Regions from separate parts of the Homo sapiens genome. Here region 1 is linked to region 2. Evidence: promoter capture Hi-C in 16 types of primary human blood cells and fetal thymus (Javierre and others, 2016). All regions are on one chromosome and are shown on one strand. Each heading gives the region's core, a stretch centred on a gene start or on the middle of the fragment in contact. The rest is flanking DNA. Distances are from core to core; before and after follow the strand shown.

The links. Contacts are between HindIII fragments. The CHiCAGO score rates a contact against its expected background, and 5 or more counts as called.
Region 1: a fragment that was not itself captured here is called in contact with the fragment with the promoter of PSTPIP2 in region 2 in 1 of 17 cell types (non-activated CD4 T cells); the score reaches 5.4 in non-activated CD4 T cells.

Annotation. Positions count from the first base shown.
Region 1 is chr18:45,896,097-45,899,477 of GRCh38, reverse strand. EPG5 (ectopic P-granules 5 autophagy tethering factor) reads left to right here. Exons shown (of 44, transcript NM_020964.3): 27 at 1-74. Among named protein-coding and RNA genes, the nearest start is that of EPG5, 70 kb to the left of the region's middle. RefSeq lists enhancers at 88-1,287, 2,120-2,414. The HindIII fragment of the contact is 2,149 bases long and covers 1,017-3,165 here.
Region 2 is chr18:46,070,594-46,073,727 of GRCh38, reverse strand. PSTPIP2 (proline-serine-threonine phosphatase interacting protein 2) reads left to right here and starts at 1,468. Exons shown (of 15, transcript NM_024430.4): 1 at 1,468-1,572. The coding sequence starts at 1,540. RefSeq lists silencers at 1,173-1,332, 1,463-1,512, 1,553-1,932 and enhancers at 1,062-1,563, 2,783-2,842, 2,883-2,982. The HindIII fragment of the contact is 16,135 bases long and covers 1-3,134 here.

The DNA of each region.
Region 1 (3,381 bases), core at 842-3,341, 170 kb after region 2:
AGACCACACTACATTTGGAGTGCAGAGGCAGCAGCGGTAAGAAATGCCAAGGAGCCGCAGTTGTCACGGTTCAGGTAAGTGTTTAAATTTCTTCAGAACTGAGAGAATTTTAATTGAGTCCGTAATGTTGGCTTATCAATGAGAAAGATTGAAAGACATATATAGCACACTGTCTGTGTCCCAAACATTTACTAGTTTTGCAGGGCATGAAAACACTCATAGAGCTAATCACACATTTTTGTAGGTACCAGATGAGTCCTATAAGACAGATATTCAAATAGGAATTAAAAAAAAATCAGAATCATTGAGAAGATTCCTAGAGAGAGGGCTTCAACTGATTCCTTTTTTTGTTTGTTTGTTTTTTGAAACGGAGTCCCCAGGCTGGAGTGCAGTGGCGCGATCTTGGCTCACTGCAACCTCCACCTCCCGGGTTCAAGTGATTCTCCTGCCCCAGCCTCCCGAGTAGCTGGGATTACAGGCACCTGCCACCACGCCCGGCTAATTTCTGTGTTTTTAGTAGAGATGGGATTTCACCATGTTGGTTAGGCTGGTCTTGAACTCCTGACCTGGTGATCCACCCGCCTCGGCCTCCCAAAGTGCTGGCATTACAGGCGTGAGCCACCGCGTCCGGTCTCAATTGATTAAAAGACTTTGGTGATGATACAGTTAGAAGGAATTTGGAAATGGAGTGGCCATGATGTCATTTAGGGGTCGGTGGCTAGGTCAGCCCGTTCCAAGTGTTTTGGGGGTGTTGGTGGGAATTCACATTGGAAAGCTTGGTGTGCACCATCATTGGGAACTCTGGCTGTCTGCTGCACATGGCAGGGAGCCCCTGAAGATGAACGTGGGAAGGATATATGGGAAGCAGATTAGTTGGGTGGAACTTGCTGACAGGCAGAGGAGAGACATGCAACAATGTGACTGAAACTTGAACTGCCTCTCAGAGTTACCTTCTTGCACTGGAATATAGGCAGAATTTGGATCTGCAATATGGTATGCACTTCACAATGGAAGCTTCGCTGAAGCTAGTGTGCCATAGCATTTACTTTATGCCAGGCCCTGTCTAAACACTTTAAATAAGTTATTTTATCCTCACAACAACTCTGCAAGGTGGCCTTTATCATATTATCTTCATTTCTCAGGTAAGGAAGTAGAGTCACAGAGAAGTTAATTAAGTTGCTCACCTGAAGTGCCACAGCCCGTAAGTGGCACAGCCAGAAAGGCCCAGGCAGTCCGGCTCCAGAGCCAGTGCTCTTTTTAAAGTAGAGATGGGGTTTTGTAGTAGAGATGGGATTTTGCCATGTTGCCCAGGCTGCTCTCAAACTAGTGGGCTCAAGCAATCTGCCTGTCTCGGACTCCCAAAGTGCTGGTATTGCAGGCCTGAGCCACCGCACCCGGCCAGCCTGTGTTCATTAATCACCGCACTGTATTCCTCCTTCGAGTGAAGTCAGTATTCCTTAAGCTGAAAGAGAAATGCTTGGAGATTAGCACTGCCTATTGTCTAAATCTGTCTACACACAAATGATTCTTTTTTGTTAGCTTTTGGAAATTGGAGAAAATTTATTTTACTCCCTCTTGTTTGTCTTTCAGAAATTTCCCTTCTTTTTTTGCTAATTTTCATTGTAACTATTCCAATGTCTCCATCAATTTCCTTGGGAGACTCTTTTCTACAAAATGTCTTCTCTGAAATAATCTTTTATATGTATTGTATTTTTCATTACTTTCAAAATGTGTCTCTGATTTTTCAACATAGTTGTATTTGTCTAAAGTTCAGAAATTTGACCTAAAAGTTAGGATGAGTCCAACTTATTTTCCCGTATGTTATTGTAAATATGTGCGACTCTTAAACATTGAGTTATCTTTGGCCAGGTGCTTTATACAGTTGGTTTTCTTTTGGTGTATTTTTTTCCCAGTTACTAATGCTGTTATAGTAAGACCAAGGTAGAAATATTTAAGAAAAGATCGCTTGCTGAAGTAATAAAACTGGGAGAAAAGTTTGCCAATTTTGGGTGGAGTTCGAGTTAGTGAGGAAAAAACTGAAAATGTATCCGGTTTTAATAAAAAAAGGGGTGTCTTCACCAATTTGTGTTTTTCCATATTTTAAAACTACATATCTTTGCCAGACTGTTAATTTTATATAGAGAAGAGAATTCTAAAATGCATTTTTATAAGTGACAAGTGAGATAACTATAAAGAAATGTTTTTCCAGTTCTGGCTGATGGCTTGCTCTGTGAAGAACTGTAAATATTTACTGCCTCAGCTAAAGAACAGGTCTCTTGCCCTGACCTCCTGTTAACTCTCTGGGCCTTGCAGTGGAAAATACCACCAGGCAGGCCAGGGAGCTGAAGCTCTAAGCCTACCTGTGACTTGTCTCTTTTCCTTTACAGAAAAAGGGATCATAGTATTATATTATTTGTCTGAACCCTTGAATTGAGATTTTAAACATAATCTTTTGCTTTGTTAATTCTGAAATAAAAAGAAACACCTTTTCTAAAATGTCTTCTAGGTAATTTTGATTGGAGGGAGGTCAGAGAAAAGATGATTTATGATAAGGACTGATGTGAACATGGCTTAGATGTTTTTACAAACATACCAAAGTTCTTGTGCTTTCTTTTCTTTAAAGAAAAGTTGGGCTGAGCGTGGTGGGTCACTCCTGTAATCCTAGCACTTTGGGAGGTTGAGGTGGGCAGATTGCTTGAGCTCAGGAGTTCAGCAGCCTGGGCAACATGGAGAAACTCTGTCTTTACAAAAAATATTATACAAAAATAAGCCGGGCATGGTGGCGCACGCCTGTGGTCCAAGCTACTTGGGTGGCTGAAGCAGGAGGATCACTTAACCGCAGGAGGTCCAGGCTGCAGTGAGCTGTGACTGTGCCACCGCACTCCAGCCTGGGCAACAGAGTGAGACCCTGTCTCAAGAAAAAAAAAGAAAAATTGGTAATTGCTAATATAGCTTGAAGAAAGAAGGGGGAAAAGTAATGAAGGAGAGAGGGAAAAAAGGAGATGTTGCAGAAGCGTAAAGAATTTGAAAAAATAGCTGTATTTTGTGGCCCTAACCTCATTAGAAATATTTAAGTTTTCTTAAAGCAGGTTTTACTTTTCTGCTGGCCTCACTCGTTTGCTTAGTGCCCTGACTTTTAGTCCCACTTGGGAAGTTCCACAAGCTTGAGATCCCTCACTGATGGCTCCTAGAAGTTCAGTATCAATAATAGTATCGACTGCAGCCAGTGTTTTGCCTGATAACGCAGATTTGCCAGGGCAATTAAAAACATGGACAGTGAACAACTTTTATAGGCGGAGACTTAAATAATCTTGAAAGTTATATAGTACTGTTGTTGCTAGTTGAGGCTATCCCAGGCGGTATTTGCTGGTTGATACTTCT
Region 2 (3,134 bases), core at 219-2,718:
CTCCCGCTTCTATGTCCCCAGTTTGTGCCATTTCTTACCCCCTGCAGTTAAGCCTAGCTTCCTAGTGCCTACCACGTCCTCTGCTGCCCCTTGATGGTTCTGCCAGGCTTCTCTGCCTTCCTTCTAATCTCACTGCTTTCAAAGGATATGAGCAAGTACGTAAATGGATGCATCCCTTGGAGATGCTTGGTGGCTGGAGGCCACCTCTCCATCTTTGCAGTTGTGGATGACTTTATTGGTGGGAGTTCATCTGAGTGGGGCTGGCTGCAGTTTTATGGAGCAGAACTTGTTCCAGGTGCTTCACATAATTCTAGCAATTGCCCTTTCACTGTGTCTGGGTGTAGCTAGAACCTGCTCCAGGGGTGAGTGCTTGCTTCTCCAGGCTGGGCTGGTGCCAGTCTTGGCAACCTTGACCTTTATCCTCCCCACTTTGAGCACCTATTCCTCTGCCCAGGATGGATCTGCCCCAGGAAGGATGTCTGTCTTTGCATCTATTTAGAAGGGCAGAGCTCTAACCTTGAGCTCTTCATCCCTTAAATAAACTGTGATCTTGGGCAAGCCATTCAACCCCTCTGGGCCTCAGGTTGGGCTTCGGGCCTGTCGCACCAGGCAGTACTTTGTCATAAGCCCTGCATTACTATTAAAAGTCATGGCAAAAACCGCAATTACTTTTGTACCAATCTACTACAATGCAGAGAGGGGTCTGACCTGCCCTGGGGTTTTATTTGTGAGGGTGGAAGAGTGGAGGGAGAAGAAGGAATCTTGGGCCCCTCTTGCTGGGGTGGAATGGGCAGGGAAGGGTCTTGCCTTTTGAGAATGGAAAGGGAGTCAGAGAGCGGCTGAGCTCCTGGAAGCCCTGTTAGGACACCACCAAGTGACTAGAGTCAAGGGGAAACAGCAGAGATGACCTCTCCATGACATTTTAGACTAAAACGTGACCCCATTCATTAAAAACACCTGCAACAACAAAAAGTAAAATAAAAAATGAACCGTCCCCCAGGGCCTGATCTGCAGCAGGTGCCGGTGGGGCCCGCCGTGAAGCCAAGGCGTCTGCGGGAGTTGTCGGCCCCAGGCCTTCTGTAGCTTAAACCGGGTCCTCGCGACCATCTGATCAGATCCCGTCTATCACCCCGCAGAGCCTGGATTTCGTGCTGTCCAGGGGGCCTTGTGGGCAGGAACCCAAGCCAGGACCAGTTATTTCCAATACCCAAAGACTTCCAGAAGGAGGCAGCTAGCTTCGGGCTGATATATTGATCGTGGCCCGACGCTGTGGGGCTTTAAATGGGCCTGGGTCCGGGTGCGGGCTGCAGCCCCTGGCCGGGTGAGCGCCGAGGGTCCCGCCCAGGTCTCGCGCAGGGAGCGCAGAGCGCCGACGGCGGCCGTCGCAATCGGGAGTGGTTTAGGACCCGGGGGCGGCTTCCCTGCGCGAGTGTGGAACGCAGAAGTTGAGTCTGCGGAGCCGCGGGCAGTGGCAGTCAGGCCTCCCCGCTCTGTGCTACCTGCGGCCCGGCTCTCCTCCGCGCCCCCACTCGCGCTGCGATGACGCGCTCACTGTTCAAGGGAAACTTTTGGGTAAGTCGTGGGGCCGACAGCGGATCGCGGGGCTCAGGACCCGGCCCGGGCGGGAGGCCAACGCGGCGGGCGTGGGGGGCTCCCCAGCTCCGGCGCCACTCGGTGACCGCGCGCCCGGGGGCTTGGCGGAGCTCGCGCGTGAAGGGATCGGGGCCCCAGCCCCACTGCTCGAGGGGCAGACTTGGAGCGGACGCCGGGCTGCTGTTCCCTCTCTGTCCCCCGCTACCCACCGCGTGCCCGCGAGTCCCGGGGGCTCGGACTCCAGGGCCCACCCTCTGCCGCCCGCGCCCCCAGCAGCGCGTGCTCCTGAGGACGCAGAGAGCCGAGACACCTTAGAGTCAGGACATCAACCCCTCCTCTCACAGGCGAAGCAGAGACCCTTAGGGAGGCGAGACCCGTCCGGGGAGAGTCTCTGCCGGTCCCTGGAGCTGAGCCGTGAGAGGATCTGGGGGGATCTGGTGTGGGGGCTTGTGAGCTTTACCGGGTTGACAGCAGCAGCTGCCCCCCGGGATCGTCCTTTCCAGGAAACGTACAGCATAGAGGGCTTCCCTTTGCTGGAGCTTTCCCTGTTCTACAGCCTTGTTTCCCGAGCCCCCTCCCCAGGCCATTGCCCCAGCCCTTCCGTCCAGGCCCCATAGCGGGGCTGATGGTGTGGGAGACCCTATAAGCTGGAGGGGGTACCCCACCCAGCCCGGTAGGGCCAGCCCAGCCTGGAGGGAGCAGGTCTGCCTGTCCCCCTCCTCTGTCTAGTCCTCTTCCCTCTGTCCTCTCACTCCCCAGGTGCCCCTCAAGGTCCATGCCCCCTCATTCAGAGGAGCTGTCCTCATCCCTTTAAGACAGGAGCAGGAGGCTGCAAACCTCAAAGTTGACCGCAGCTGCCAAGGGGCCCTGACTCCTTACTGGGGCTCCTGCTTGCCTCCCCCCACCACCCACCCAGGTAGCTTCACAGCTGCCTAGATGGTCCCTCTACCCCACGTGGGCTGCAGGGTAGAGAAACCTGGCTGGGGACCTCAGGGACACAGTTGAGACTGTGCCTGTGAGTCCCTTCACTGGAGTTTGTGAGGTCCTTCTGGGGCACTACTCACCCTAGGGTGCAGGGTGGTGGCAGCCTCACAGAGGAACCAAGGGCACCACAGATGGCTCTCACGGGAGGCTTGCGAGTTTTTCAGGTAGAATGGAGGACTGGGGGATCCCATGGCAGGCACTGTGGGAAAAAGGCTCTGTATAATACAAACTGGAGAATGAGATGTGGGCCCCAGAAATAAGGAAGTCAGCAGAGGAACTGGTTCGTGGAGACATAAGGAGAAGGAGGCAGACGTGATACTAACAGTATTTAGTTCAGGCACAGTGGCTCATGCCTGTGATCCCAGCACGTTGGGAGGCCGAGGTAGGAGGATTGCTTGAGGCCAGGAGTTCGAGACCACCCTGGGCAACATAGTGAGACTCTGTCTGTCTCTACAAAAAAATCTTAAAAATTAGCTGGGCATGGTGGTGCATGCCTGTAGATATAGTTACTTGGGAGGCTGAGGCAAGAGGATTGCTTGAGGCCAGGAGTTTGAGGT